Linked DNA regions of Homo sapiens: all the other regions are linked to region 1. The links are contacts of gene promoters, found by promoter capture Hi-C in blood cells and fetal thymus (Javierre and others, 2016). All regions are on one chromosome and are shown on one strand. The core of a region is centred on a gene start or on the middle of the fragment in contact, and the rest is flanking DNA. Distances in the headings are between cores, read along the strand shown.

The links. Contacts are between HindIII fragments. The CHiCAGO score rates a contact against its expected background, and 5 or more counts as called.
Region 2: a contact is called between a fragment that was not itself captured here and the fragment with the promoter of PORCN in region 1, in 2 of 17 cell types (M2 macrophages and M0 macrophages). The highest score is 7.1, in M2 macrophages.
Region 3: a fragment that was not itself captured here is called in contact with the fragment with the promoter of PORCN in region 1 in 1 of 17 cell types (neutrophils); the score reaches 5.0 in neutrophils.

The regions. Positions count from the first base shown.
Region 1 is chrX:48,505,656-48,510,733 of GRCh38, forward strand. PORCN (porcupine O-acyltransferase) reads left to right here and starts at 3,337. Exons shown (of 15, transcript NM_203475.3): 1 at 3,337-3,448; 2 at 4,129-4,301. The coding sequence starts at 4,166. It overlaps PORCN-DT (PORCN divergent transcript), which reads right to left and starts at 3,184. Exons shown (of 2, transcript NR_135596.1): 1 at 3,064-3,184; 2 at 871-1,400. RefSeq lists a silencer at 3,164-3,563. The HindIII fragment of the contact is 7,257 bases long and covers 89-5,078 here.
Region 2 is chrX:48,040,401-48,045,478 of GRCh38, forward strand. No RefSeq gene overlaps it. Among named protein-coding and RNA genes, the nearest start is that of ZNF630-AS1, 13 kb to the right of the region's middle. The HindIII fragment of the contact is 940 bases long and covers 2,638-3,577 here.
Region 3 is chrX:48,815,557-48,820,634 of GRCh38, forward strand. It overlaps HDAC6 (histone deacetylase 6), which reads left to right. Exons shown (of 29, transcript NM_006044.4): 16 at 19-86; 17 at 328-496; 18 at 585-713; 19 at 909-1,077; 20 at 1,770-1,903; 21 at 2,485-2,553; 22 at 2,664-2,856; 23 at 4,550-4,699. Among named protein-coding and RNA genes, the nearest start is that of ERAS, 8.4 kb to the right of the region's middle. The HindIII fragment of the contact is 5,405 bases long and covers 1-4,955 here.

The sequences.
Region 1 (5,078 bases), core at 2,087-4,586:
CATGGTGACTCACACCTGTAGTCCTTGAAGATTACATGAGCCCAGGAGTTCAAAGATGCAGTGAACCATGATTGTGTCAATGCCCTCAAGCTTGCGTAATAGGGCAAGACCCTGTCTCCAAAAAAAAAGAAAAAAAATTACAAAGGGAAAAATAGTAAATTTATACTGGTGAAAACTAGAAGACCACTTTAAGCAAAAGATCAATGCTAATACTAACAATTTCGAGACTAACTGAACCCTCCTGCCTCCTGATAACGCTGAGAACACAGCGTCACTTCTGTGGAATTCCTGCCAAAAATGCAGAATTCAAATCTAATCATGAGGAGACATCAGATAAACCCAAATTGAAGGACATTCTTCCAAAGAACTGGTCTGTGCTCTCCCAAAACATCAAGATCATGAAAGTTAAGTGAAGATGGAGACATTGTTCCACATTGGAGGAGACTAAAAAAACCTGATAACAGAATGTATCTTGTGACCCTATGATTCCCTTTTCCTATACAAGGACACTATTGACATGCCCACCAGGGTGGCTAGAACCAAAAAGTCAGATAACAAGTATTTGTGAGGATGTGGAGCAATGGAAACCTCATACTATGCTGGTAGCAATGTAAAAAAAGAAAAAAAAGTCCTTGCTCTTAGGATATTCATACTGAAGTATTTAGTTAAAAGGGTGTCATATCCGCAACCACTAACAAATAATTCAGAAAAATCACTGTATATCATTCAGAAAAATTATATATATGTAAATTACATATGTATATACATGGGGAGAAAGAAACGGACAGAGACAGAGAGAGAGCAAATATGTTATCATTATAAGGCTTGGCATTTTTGTCAGTCCCATAAGTGAAAAATAGTATATCATTGTTTTTAATTTGTATCTCTTTAATTATGGAGAGCTCATCTAAAACACCCCAGAAACCACAACCTAGAATGACCACAGACATTTATTGAGTGTCCACCCTCTACTAAGCTCCAGTGATAAAAATATGAAGCACAACATCTGGTAGATGTAAAATGGTATTATATCTCACTGTTGTTTTAATTTTACATTTCCCTGAGCAGTAAAGAGATTGGGTTATCTTTTCATATATTATACATATTGACCATTTTAGGTTTCTTCTGCTGTGAATTACCTATTTGTACCCAATGTCTATTGCCAAGTGTATTGTTTGTCCTCTTCGGATTTGTAGATGTTCGTTATATATCCTAAAACCTAGATCCTACTTCTTTGTGACACAGGTCAAAAGCCTAGATGGAAACAATCAAGTCCGCAAAGCCCAGGAGCACATGTGGTAAGAATCTTCCAGTTTTAAATGCCAAGTCTTGCAATTGAGGGAAGTATTTCTGGTAGGTGCTGTGGGTCATTGTTGACTCAACTTGAGTGGGTTTGACAACTGAGAAAAAAATTAAAATGAAATTTAATTCATAAAATGTATGTCCTGTATTCTGCTGTTAAGGAAAAGAATTGATATTTGTGCATCTGGTCTAAGCTATTATTCCTTATATATACATATTCTTACCGTATTAAATGTTTTTTGTTTGTAATACATGAATACTAATTTATGAGCTAGAACTCCATTTAACTTCATGTTAAAATAGAGAGAAAATATACATTTCTCTTCAATTACCATTGGTGTTTCCCAGCAAAAACCTGCCAAGCCCACTCTTTTGTTTAACAGAAAAGGACAATGGAGACGGGTGAGTGAACATGACTTGCCCAGCTCCATACAGGCCATTGTTAATCTGATTAAAATCTGTTTCAGTTGGCTGCCCAGGTCAGGGTGGCGTCCAGTTTGACCTGGGCTTCCTTCTCCCTTCCACGTCACAGCTAAGCATGTAGTGCAGTAAGCGCCCAGTAAGTGCTCTTTTGGAAAAATAGGCCCTTCATCAGCCTAGGTACAAAGGGGAATGCCTAGAAACTGCAGCAGTAGGGTAGGTAGAAGGCGGGTGCTACATAAATCTTTAGTGTTGGTGCAGATAGAGGTGCGGATGGGGCCAGTGTAAGCGCTTTCTTTTTTATTTTATTTATTTATTTATTTAGAGAAGGAGTTTCGCTCTTGTTTATTTATTTATTTATTTTGGAGAAGGAGTTTTGCTCTTGTCACCCAGGCTGGAGTGCAATGGCGTGATCTCGGCTCACTGCAACCTCCGTCTCCTGGGCTCAAGTGATTCTCCTGCCTCAGCCTCCGGAGTAGCTGGGATTACAGGCGCCCAGCTAAATTTTTTGTATTTTTAGTAGAGACAGGGTTTCGCCATATTGGCCAGCCTGGTCTCAAACTCATGACCTCAGGTGATCCATCCGCCTCGGCCTTCCAAAGTGCTGGGTTACAGGTGTGAGCCACCACGCCCAGTCTTTATTTATTTATTTTGAGACGGAGTTTCGCTCTTGTAGCCCACAATGACGCGATCTTGGCTCACTGCAACCTCTGCCTCCTGATTCTCCTGCTTTAACCTCCCGAGTAGCTGGGATTACAAGCGTGCGCCACCACGCCTGGCTAATTTTTGTATTTTTAGTAGAGACGGGGTTTCGCCATGTTGGCCAGGCTGGTCTCGAACTCCTGACCTCAAGCTATCCTCCTACCCTTGGCCTCCCGAAGTGCTGGGTTTATAGGCGTGAGCCACCGAGCCTGGCCCTTAAGAGCTTTATAAATGCCCCCCTTTTAAGTGCTCGGTACTAGCCTCCCTCTAGTTCACAGAGAACATTTACTAGTCGCTGGGGTCACCTTCGAAGCAAAGAGTCTGCTGGGGAATTAAGCATGCAAATCACTTCTCAACGACGACACGCCAAGTGCTCACAGCTCGTCCCCAGGGGAAGCACAGGCGCCTAATTTGTGTTCCTAGGTGACACAGTCATTACTTATAAATGTTCCTGGCCGGTCCCAGGAGGTGGGAGGGTTGGGAGTTACTTCGGTTCTCTCAAAGGTTGGGGAAGGAGAGATCTCGGTTTGTTTTCCCATCTGTGAAACGGGGACACCACGGTATTTAGAGGACGTGCGCGGGTGACTATTTGGGGGTGCAGCGGCTTCCCTCCTCCCTCCCCCATCTTTCCCTTCTCACTTCCAAGGCTTGGAAATTTGGAGATTCGGAAGTTTGTTCTTGGATGGCCAGAAATCCTCCGGAGGCAGACGGTCTGGGGCTGAAACCGCCACAGGCCGGAAAGGTGCGGGCGTGAACGTCCTGCGCGCCGACGTCCCCCCGCGCCGGTCTCCCCTCAATCCTCCTGCTCCCCTCCTCCGCGTCCCCGTCCCCGCCCCCCTCCTGCTCTCCCATTGGCCGAGCCGGCGGCCGGGCCGCCCCGGGATTTAAAGGGCCCGCTCGCCGCGCCGCTCTGGGAGCCGCTGCTGGTCCCGGCCTTGCGGCCTGCGGGGGAGGCTGCCCGGAGGAGGCAGCGGCGGCGGCAGCGCGTCCTCGGTCCCCAGGACCACGGCTTCTTTCCTGCCAGGTAGGTCGCCAGTAGTGCGCACGCGGCTCCCCAGCTCCCATCCCTGGGCCGGCCTCCCCAGGCGGATCTGTAGCGCGAGTGCTAGGACCCCCTCCCCATCACCTTTCCGACTCTCCCTCAGGCTATGTCTCCTACCACCACCTCCTTGCAGCCCCCGGACCTGGGCAGGACTTTGTTGGCGGCCTCTCGCCGGGTGGGGATGAGATGGGGGGCGCGGAGGATACAGGACACCCCCCCTCCCCGTGCCGCCGCATCCATACAAGGAGAGATGCACACGGCCCCCAAGTGTCACAGAATCCCCCTCTCTGCCCTCCACTCAGAGCGACTCTACCTTGGAAACCAGGGATTCCCCTTCCCGTCGCCCGCCCCATTTGATATATGGGCCTGAAATGTATGCCATCCCATCACCATCGGACTGGACTGTTCACAGCACTGGAGAGACAGAGGTCCTTCATTCACTCCAGGTCACAGGCTGTGCGTGTGCATGCCGAACACCCACATGCACACAGTTGGTGGCTCAGTCTGATGTACCTGACTTCTCACGCCTTCCCCCAGTCCTCCAGTACCGTGCCTCTACATGGGCTGGGCAGCCCCAAACTGAAATGTGAGTGCCAGAGTGCATCCTTTAAGCGAGGTCTGCCCCACGGACACCCGCTCCCTCTGTGTCCCTGCTTTGACAGATCTATCCATCTGGCCATCCATCCGTGGGGGTCTGCAATGGCCACCTTTAGCCGCCAGGAATTTTTCCAGCAGCTACTGCAAGGCTGTCTCCTGCCTACTGCCCAGCAGGGCCTTGACCAGATCTGGCTGCTCCTTGCCATCTGCCTCGCCTGCCGCCTCCTCTGGAGGCTCGGTAAGTGCCTGCCATACCGTGTGCCACCATGCCAGGCCATATCAGACCTCCCACATTCATCCATATCGAGCCACACCTTACCCTGTCACATCCTGCCAGGCCCTAGCATGTCCAAGCTGGACCCCAACATGTTCAGCCCCACCACATCCCACCAGGCCAAACCCCATTCCACCATACCACATCCTACTATGCCAGCCACCCCATGCCATGCCACACCGAGCCACATCCTGCCATGCCAAGCCATGCCCTTCAGTATTCCTGAGTTCTGGGATTCCAGAAAGCTGAGATTCTTGGATCTTGGGATTCTGAAATGTCTACATCCCAAGGTTATAAGACATTGGCATGCTGATGTCACAGGGTTATGGAATCCCAAAGTACCATGATTACAGCGTTTGGAGATTCTGACAATTTGAAATTCTCACATTCTAGACTTCTAAAATGTTGGCATTGTGGATTTCTATAATCAGGGCATGATGCGATTTCTGGATTCTAGGATTCTGAAATGTTTCCACAGTCATAGCAGGCCTGTATCTTAATGAAAGATTCCAAGTCCCCAAGATTCCTATAGGAGGCGGAGATTTCTGGAAATCTGAGATCCGAAGGTTCTACACTTTCTTTTTTCTTTCTTTCTTTTTTAATTTTAAATGGATGTTCTATTTTTTCCCAGGTTTATTATTTTGAAATTTTTCAAAGCTACTGAAATGTTGAAAAAATAGTACAGTGAGCACCCACGTATGCATCACCAGATTCTCTGTCAACATCTTGCCACGTTAGCTG
Region 2 (5,078 bases), core at 1,858-4,357, 470 kb before region 1:
TGGTACCAGTACCATGCTGTTTTGGTTGCTGTAGCCTTGGCAGCAGTGTTAGTGATGTACAGAGGACAATGCAGAGGCCCTTTTAACAGGGTTTAAGATTAGTTTTCTGGTGATGTTGACTTTAGAGAACAAGGTCTCCAATTTCTAGGTTGTACAATGGTTTGGATAGGAAAATTGGAGGAAAATCAGCCTCAACCTATTGAAGGTAAGTTTGAGTATAATTGATAAATATTTTGAAGTAATTTAGATTGTCTGAATTGACCAGGTTAGGATATTTGAAAGCCTAAATAGAATAGGGAATTCTCATGGGGCTTGCCAGTTATTATTGTATATGGGTATAGTTTGTGTGATCTGGCAGGAGAGGATCAGAAGGCAATCAGGGCTAAGGGTAAAATTTTAGGCCATTGCGTATTGAGTTTTTCCATCAGTTTAGCAAGCTTTATTGTTTGTTTGGTTTGGTTTTGTTTTTTTTACAGATAGGATCTCACTATGTTGCTCAGGCTGGTCTCAAATTCCTGGGCTCAAGCAATCCTCCCACCTCAGCCTCCCAAGTAGCTGGGACCATAGGCATGTGCCACCACACCCAGCTAATTTTTAATTGTTTTTTTTGTAGAGATGGGATCTTGCTTTGTTGCCCAAGCTGGTCTTGAACTCCTGGCCTCAAGTGATCCTCCTGCCTTGGCCTCCCAAAGTGCTGGGATTACAGGCGTGAGCCACCATACCCACTTTAGCAAGTTTTAATTTTAATAGTCCATTAGGTCTGTCTATTATTACAGGAAAGATAGGTGATAAGGGATGATCCGGAGAGATAATAAGGACTACATATTTTTGTGATACAGGAAGAACGACTTGGATTTCTTAGATTACTTTACTGGTGAAATGGGTCCCTCAGCCACTTAAAAAGAGCTAATGGAATTGTCCATGTGCAAAACACTTGCCCTGTTAATTTAGGGAAGGCTAAGTATTTTTTTTACAACACTTCCCATACACTTTATATAATATTAACTAAATCTAATTATTTTAGTACCTCCTTTTAAAAAGTGAAAGAACAAATCATTTTGTGATTTCCTTGGGACCCTCTGGAAAATCTCAAAGGCAGGTTTAGGTATAAAACATACCATTTAATATTAGATTTGGAGCTGGTCGCAGTGGCTCATGCCTATAACCCCAGCACTTTGGGAGGCCGAGACCAGCGGATCACTTGAGGTCAGGAGTTTGAGACCAGCCTGGCCAACATGGTGAAACCCCGTCTCTACTTAAAAAATACAAAAATTAGCCAGGCATGGTGGCACACACCTATAATTCCAGCTACTCGGGAGGCTGAGGCACGAAAATCGCTTGAACCCGGGAGGCAGAGGTTGCAGCGACCGGAGATGGAGCCACCGCACTCCAGCCTGGGCGACAGATTGAGACTCTGTCTCAAAAAGAAAAAAGAAAAAAGATTAGATTTGAGGAAGGCAAAATGTCAAAAATTGTTAGGATACTTGAAAATTTGGTTAAATAGGGTCATGGGTCACTGATAAACAATACTTGGCTACCATTTAACTAAAGTGATTTTAAAGTAAATATAGGAGGTAACATGGTTGTAAAAATAGCTCTTTAAAAAGTGAAAAAACTTGATTCTCTTAAATAACTAAGGATATGAAAAAGTCAACATAAAGCACAGGTATAAAGAGCTGGGTGTCCTCTAATTCAATCCACTACTGACTATCTACTTGGAGACAGAGTCAGCTCCCACAAGTTGAGGACTCAGTCTCACAAGACTGTCTCCCATTTGAGATGCCAGTTGCAAGCACATATTGAGACCTGTACTTCTTACCAACTGGCTGTAAGTCAGGATTCCCACGACCCCCCTGAGGTTCAATTCATTTGCTAGAGCAGCTCACAGAACCCAGGCAAACACTTTACTTATGTTTACTGGTTTATTAATAAGGGATATAATGAAGGATGAAGATTAACAGCCAGATAGCGAAGATGCATAGAGCAAGGCATGAGGGAAGGGGTGTGGAGTTCCCATGCCGCCTCCAGAGCACCACCCTCCAAGAACCCACACATTTCCAGCTATCTGGAAGCTCCCCAAGCCCTGTCCTTTTGGGTTTTTATAGAGGCTCCATTACCTAGATGTAATTGATTACATCATTAGCCATTGATGATCAATTCAACCTTCAGCCCCAGAGTTGAGGGATGGGGCTGGAGGTCCCAACCTTCTAATCACATGGTTGATTCCCCTGGCAACCAGCTCCCATCCTGAGGCTATCCAGGAGGACATTAAGAGGTCACCTCATTAGAGCAAAAGATGCTTCTATCACCCAGGAAATTCCAAGGGATTTAGAAGCTCTGTGTCAGACACTCCTATCACACAAGAAATTACAACGGTCTTAAGAGCTTTGTATCAGAAACTGGGGTCAAAGACCAAATATTAAAACAGAATATTTTTATCATCTCTCTCTCCTGTAATGATAGACAGACCTAACGGACTATTAAAATTAAAGCTTGCTAAACTGGACATAGTGGCTTACGCCTGTAATCCCAGCACTTTGGGAGGTCAAGGCACCAGGAGTTCAAGACCAGCTTGAGCAACATAGTGAGACCCCATCTGTAAAAGACAAAACTAAACCAAAAACAAACAAACAATAAAGCTTAGTAAACTGATGGAAAAACTCAATCTCCAATGAACTAAAGTTTTACCCTCTCTGGGACTCTCCTTCACCATCTGTAAAATGAAGCCAGGGCTCATTTACGTGGGATTCCCATGAGGATCAAGTAAAACTGTGCTGGAAGACTTTAGCACAACACATTCCTGTCTGGCAGCAGAAGGGGATCAGCCTTGAGGTATAAAATTCTGGGTTGCAATCAGTGGTGTGCTGATAACAGCTGGCCCCAGCGAAATGGCACAAGCCAGCTCAGCATGGCTCGATTTATGTGAAGTTTCTAGAAGAGGCTAAACTAATCTATGGTGAGAAAAGTCAGGACAATGCTTGCCTCTGGAGGGGGTGGCAGCAGGGATTGATAAGGAAAGGGCATGAGGGAACTGTCTCAGGTGATGGTCGTGTTTAATGTTTTGATAGGGGTTTACATTTGTCAAAATTCTTTGAATGATACACTTGAGATTTATACATTTCACTGTATACAATTTTACTTAAAACTGTAAATATTGAACTCTAGTTAATGATATGTACGCTGAATTATCTAGAAGCGAAGTGCACTGAAATCTGCAACTTACTTTGAATTGCACCAAAAAATAACATGGATTGATGGACAGATAGAAACATGGATAGATGAAAAGAGATGAGATAAAGCCAGGTTAACAACATGTAACAGTCTGGGTGTAGGGTATATTGGCACTTACCAAACAATTCTTTGTATCTTCTGTATGCTTGAAGATTTAATTATGAAAAATGTTGAGGAAACATACTGAGCATATCTTACATACAAAGTTGTTTATCTTTGCCCCATTGCTTCTAGTAGTTTCATTTACATATATTGATTATAATTTTATCCACTAATGACTTTTACTTTGCAGAGAAAACTAGGAAGTAGATAACTATGAACTGTCTATCATAGAGCAGGCTAGCAAAGCTTATGAATATATATCTCACAATCTAGTTGATACAATATTGGCTTATTCGACTAGTAAACCTGTACACATTTAGGAAGAACATACCAAGTAGAAAGAAGTGTATACTTCTGTTATACTTAATGGTAATAACTCATAAAACATAGCTATTTTTATTAAGCCAACAATATTAAGCTAATTTTGTTTGCCAAAGATTTACCTAAATTAGGTAACTTGAATTTTTTTTTTTTAGATGAATTTCCTTCTTGTTGCCCAGGCTGGAGTGCAGTGGTGTGCTCATGGCTCACCGCAACTTCCGCCTCCTGGGTTCAAGCGATTCTCCTGCCTCAGCCTCCCGAGTAGCTGGGATTATAGGCATGCACCACCACGCCCGGCTAATTTTGTATTTTTAGTAAAGATGGAGTTTCACCACGTTGACCAGGCTGGTCTTGAACTCCTGACCTCAGGTGATCCACCCGCCTTAGCCTCCCAAAGTGCTGGGATTACAGGTGTGAGCCACCACGCCCGGCAGTAAATTGAATTTTTAAAACATTTATGTTAGGTTTTAGAGAATACTTTTTCCCCCACACTGGAAGTATTAGAAGTTCAGATTTTTTTTTTCTGACAGTTTTAGGGTTTTTAAGGAATTTTATAAATTAATTTGATAGTATCATCCAGAGGTAGAAAAATATCACATATGCATAAAATAAATACATAAACATACAGGCAGATGCAAATAAAGATCTTACAGGTTTCATTCTAAAATTTTAGCCACGATTCAGGCATAAACACAGAAATACAAAACTCACTAGTCAATACAACAGAGTTGGCTCATTGTCTTTGCCCCACTTTGTATTTTTATCAGAATTCTGTTTCTGGCAGACGGGACAAGTTGAGGTTTACCTATTCAACATGAGGGCTAAAGCTTCCCATCAATATTTCTGGAGGAGACCTTTTTTTTCTTTTCTTTTTTTTTTTTTTTTTTTTGAGACGGAGTCTCACTCTGTTGTCCAGGCTGGAGTGCTGGAGTGCAGTGGCGTGATCTCGGCTCACTGCAAGCTCCGCCTCCTGGGTTCATGCCATTCTCCTGCCTCAGCCTCCCCAGTAGCTGGGACTACAGGCGCCCGCCACTACGCCAGGCTAATTTTTTGTATTTTTTAGTAGAGATGGGGTTTCACTGTGTTAGCCAGGATGGTCTCGATCTCCTGACCTCATGATCCGCCCGCCTCGGCCTCCCAGAGTGCTGGGATTACAGGCGTGAGCCACCGCGCCCGGCATGGAGGAGACTTTTAAGATTTTCTTTGCCCTGATGTGTAATTTGATGGATGTTGTGGACCAAATGTTTGGTGAGGGACTGAACAGACACCCAGCAGCCATCTGGGTATCTCCAAAGACCATCTGAGTAGCTAAAATATCCAGTCTGTTTCCAGCTAGCTTTCAGCCTCTGATGCTTGCTTTTGGAGCCTCTGAACCCCTCAAGAGTCCCCCTGTGGTGGCAGAAGGACCAAAGCGCTAATGACTA
Region 3 (5,078 bases), core at 1,003-3,502, 310 kb after region 1:
TTTCTCCCTGCCCTGCAGTGCCCAGGCTTCAGTTTCCTGTGCTCTGGAAGCCCTTGAGCCCTTCTGGGAGGTTCTTGTGAGATCAAGTAGGAAGTGGGGTGTGGGCCTGGTGTGGGGTGGACGTGGGATGAGCCCTGGGGGAGACTGTCTTCAGACTTCCTCTGACTTTACTGGGCTGCCTTGGTGGGAGAGGGTCAGGCCCTCTCTCTCTCCCTGGGCCCTGGTTTCAGGCCTCCCACCCCTTTTTCTGTTTGGGTCACCTGAGTTCCAGAGTATGACGGGGATTCAGATTGAGAGGGTAGGACAAACGTGGCCTCCCCCTTTTAGCTGAGACCGTGGAGAGGGACAACATGGAGGAGGACAATGTAGAGGAGAGCGAGGAGGAAGGACCCTGGGAGCCCCCTGTGCTCCCAATCCTGACATGGCCAGTGCTACAGTCTCGCACAGGGCTGGTCTATGACCAAAATATGATGAATCACTGCAACTTGTGGGACAGGTAGGCATTTGGAGGGCTGGATGAGTAGGTGTTGGGGGTCCCTCCCCCTCAGGCACTAAGCCTCTACCTCTCGTTTCCCCACTGCTAGCCACCACCCTGAGGTACCCCAGCGCATCTTGCGGATCATGTGCCGTCTGGAGGAGCTGGGCCTTGCCGGGCGCTGCCTCACCCTGACACCGCGCCCTGCCACAGAGGCTGAGCTGCTCACCTGTCACAGGTCAGACCCCGGTGCCTGGGGTGGGTGGATTCCCAGGACTGTGGATGAGGTCTCAGGGGCTGGAACTTGGGTTTCCCCTCCTGGGGAGCTGCTGCAGGACTTGAGAGGGGCTGAAGTCCCTGTCTTAGGGGTGGGGACCAGGGAGGGGACAGACCCTCCTCACTGTCCTGCGGGTGCTCCTCTCTGTGCTTCCAGTGCTGAGTACGTGGGTCATCTCCGGGCCACAGAGAAAATGAAAACCCGGGAGCTGCACCGTGAGAGTTCCAACTTTGACTCCATCTATATCTGCCCCAGTACCTTCGCCTGTGCACAGCTTGCCACTGGCGCTGCCTGCCGCCTGGTGGAGGCTGTGCTCTCAGGAGAGGTGTGTCCTCTGTGGGCTGGGGAGAGGAGGACCTGGGGGGAATGGAAAAAGAGAGCCATCTGCTGTTTCTGGAGGCTCTGAGAGAGTCAAGCAGGGCCTGAGGAAAGGGGCCATGGGGAGGGGCACGGGAGGGGGTGGGCCTAGAGGCTGGGGGAATAATGGAAGGAACTGGAGAAAGGGAAGGGTGGCCAAGTGCAGTGGCTCACGTCTGTAATCCTAGCGCTTTGAGAAGCTGAGGTGAGCTCAGGAGGTCAAGGCTGCAGTAAGCCATGATTGCACCACTGCACTCTAGCCTGGGCAACAGAGTGAGACCCTGTGTCAAAAAAAAAAAAAGGTCCGGGCGTGATGGCTCACACCTGTAATCCCAGCACTTTGGGAGGCCGAGGTGGGCAGATCACGAGGTCAGGAGATCGAGACCATCCTGGATAACATGGTGAAACCCCGTCTCTACTAAGAAACATACAAAAAATTAGCCGGGCGTGGCAGCAAGCGCCTGTAGTCCTAGCTACTCAGGAGGCTGAGGCAGGAGAATGGCGGGAACCTGGCAGGCGGCGCTTGCAGTGAGCCGAGATGGCGCCACTGCATTCCAGCCTGGGCGACAGAGCGAGACTCCGTCTCAAAAAAAAAAAAAAAAAAGGAAGAAAGGAAGGTGAGGGCAGGCTGTCCGATCTTAGCACCCTGCTGCTTCCCAGGTTCTGAATGGTGCTGCTGTGGTGCGTCCCCCAGGACACCACGCAGAGCAGGATGCAGCTTGCGGTTTTTGCTTTTTCAACTCTGTGGCTGTGGCTGCTCGCCATGCCCAGACTATCAGTGGGCATGCCCTACGGTAAGGACTCCCTGGGGACCCCCCAAATCCTGATCCTTGTGGGGACCTGGATGCTCCCCCCAGCCCATTGTTTACTCATGCCCCATGGTCCAGCTCCCAGGACTTCCTTCCCCAGAAAGAAGTAAGGGTGCAGTCCTTACCCAGAGAAGGACCGAGGATGGAGCCTCTCAGTGCTTATTTAGATAGGACCCCCAGATCATGTTACCTGGGCACTTACAAAACAGGATCCAGGGTCCCACCCCAGCATTTCTGGCCTATAGCAGCTGCCTCGACAGAACCCAGGTCTAGGCTCCTGATGCATACTCCAGAAGACCCACGAACCAGCCCCCAGCATTAGCTGCCCAAGGCCCAGGGTCCAGTTCCCTAGCAATGACCCAGAAGAGCCCAGGGCCCAGCCCCGAGCACTTGCTCAGGCCTACCGGGCAGCCCTTGGGAACCAGGATCAGACTTTTCTCCTTAACTGATAGGACCCAGGGTCCTGCCACTCAGCACTAAATGCCCCTGCAGACCCCAGGGGTCTAGCCCAGCCCTCTTCCAGGGCGTGAGTATCGTCGGTTACTGAGGTGCTGTCTCCTCCCCAGGATCCTGATTGTGGATTGGGATGTCCACCACGGTAATGGAACTCAGCACATGTTTGAGGATGACCCCAGGTAAGGGCTGCAGTCAGGGGCCGCAGTGTGATCAGGGAGGCGGGTGAGCACCTCAGGGGTACTGGAGCCCCTAACCAGCCATGGTCCGCTTCCCACCCCCTCCCTGGCAGTGTGCTATATGTGTCCCTGCACCGCTATGATCATGGCACCTTCTTCCCCATGGGGGATGAGGGTGCCAGCAGCCAGATCGGCCGGGCTGCGGGCACAGGCTTCACCGTCAACGTGGCATGGAACGGGCCCCGCATGGGTGATGCTGACTACCTAGCTGCCTGGCATCGCCTGGTGCTTCCCATTGCCTACGAGGTACAGCTCAGGATAGATCGCAGGACGTATGTGACACGCCTGTGCAGGTGGCAGCCTGGACCTGCCTCCTTGGCATGTGTGTGTGTGACTACCATGTGGCTGATGATATGAGACAGCGCATGGGTGTTTAATGAGGCTACCAGGGCAGTTGGTGGCTGTGATCACCTTGTGTATTTGTGCACAGATGGCTGTACATGACTGCCTTCTCTGTGTGACACTGTGTGAGTGACTGTCTTGGCTGTGTGTGTGAGGGCCTTCTGACTATGCACCAATGGCCCGTGTCCTGGCTGGATCTGTGTTGTATGTGCGTGCCATCACAAGTGCTTGAGTATGTGCGTGTGCGACTCTGTGCAGGCAGGTATTTCTCACCTTTTCTCTGTGTGATGGGTGTGATACTGTATGTCACTAAATGCAACCATCTCTGTGACAGCCTGTGTGGGACCTTCTGGATGTGGAAGGCTGTGTGTGACAGCAGTCACTGTCTGGCTGTCTGCCCTGGCTGTTTGTGTGTATGTCTCTGACTGGGAGGTAGCTGCCTTCCCTCTGTGTGAGCTAGGAGGCTGGTGGCTTGTGTATGGCTGACTCTGGGAGGGAGGGAAAGGGTGTGAGCACCGCTCTGTCACCCTGGGCGCCGGTGTGCATCTTTGGATCTGCATGTGCATCTGACTGTGCATGGGTAGCCAGGACAGCCTTCTGTGTGTGTACAACTGTATGTGCAAATAACCAGCTCTTGTGGACATACCAGAGTGCATGTCGCCATTGTGGCTGTGTGGTGATGGCATGTGTATGTGACTGTGCAGGATGGCTGTGGGTTATTGTCCTCTTTGAGAAACTGTGTGTGTGTACATGACTAGTGCAGATATATAGTACTGATCTATATGGTACTGTCTGTGTGGCAGTACGTGTGGCTCTGTGTGACCATCTTCTCTGTATGTGGTTCTTGCGTTGCCATCTTCTGTTTTGGAAGTGTGCAAGCACCTCTCTTTGGCACTATGTATATAAAACCCTGTATCTTGTGTATGTGTGTCCCACGTTTGACCCTGGGGTATGTGTGTGTGAGGACATGTCTCTGTCTCTCTGTTTTTCATGTCACTCTCTTGACGTGTCAGTCTGTCTCATGTCCCCATCTGTCCCTTTTTTTTTTTTTTTGAAATGGAGTCTTGCTCTGTCACCCAGGCTAGAGTGCAGTGGTGCAATCTCGGCTCACTGCCAGCTCCGCCTCCTGGGTTCATGCCATTCTCCTGCCTCAGCCTCCTGCGTAGCTGGGACTACAGGCTCCCGCCACCACGTCTGGCTAATTTTTTGTATTTTTAGTAGAGACAGGGTTTCACTGTGTTAGCCAGGATGGTCTCAATCTGACCTCATGATCTGCCCGCCTCGGCCTCCCAAAGTGCTGGGATTACAGGCCTGAGCCACCATGCCCGGCCCCCATCTGTCCCTTTCTGCCATCTCCATGTCTCTAAGTCTGCATCTATTTCTTCTACCTCTGAGTCTGTATTTCTTTTCTTCCCTTCTTCATTTTCAGTCTCTGCTTTTGTGTCTCCTAGTCTCCAGGTTCTGTGTCTCCATCTCTCTGACTTGCATCTCCATGTCTTCATTTGTCCTTTTCTCCATGTCTCTGGGTCGCCATCACTTACTGCCTACCAAAAGCCCCTACCCTCATGCTTATACATCTCTTCTCTCCCTGCCTCAGTTTAACCCAGAACTGGTGCTGGTCTCAGCTGGCTTTGATGCTGCACGGGGGGATCCGCTGGGGGGCTGCCAGGTGTCACCTGAGGGTTATGCCCACCTCACCCACCTGCTGATGGGCCTTGCCAGTGGCCGCATTATCCTTATCCTAGAGGTAACTTTCTCTTGGTCCCTCTTCCCACAGTGGGAGGGTAGTTTGGAAATGTTGGCACCATCACTCAGGACAGTTTCCTGAAATCTCCTTTGAGTGTCCCTGCCTGGGATTGTTGGCACATACTGGGTAGTAATAAGAATAACAGCAACATTAACAGCCTTAATTGAGTGCTCACTATGTGCAGAGCACTCTTCTGAGCACCTCATGTGTCTTATTCATTCAGTTACTTGGCAAAGCAGCCTTATGAGGTAGGGTAAGCTTACCTCATTTTCCTCTCTGAAGATCAGGGAAACTGAGGCACAAAGAGGTGTGATGACTAGCCTGAGATGGCACATTTACTGATGGCAGAACCAGGACTTGAACCCATGCAGCCTGGCTC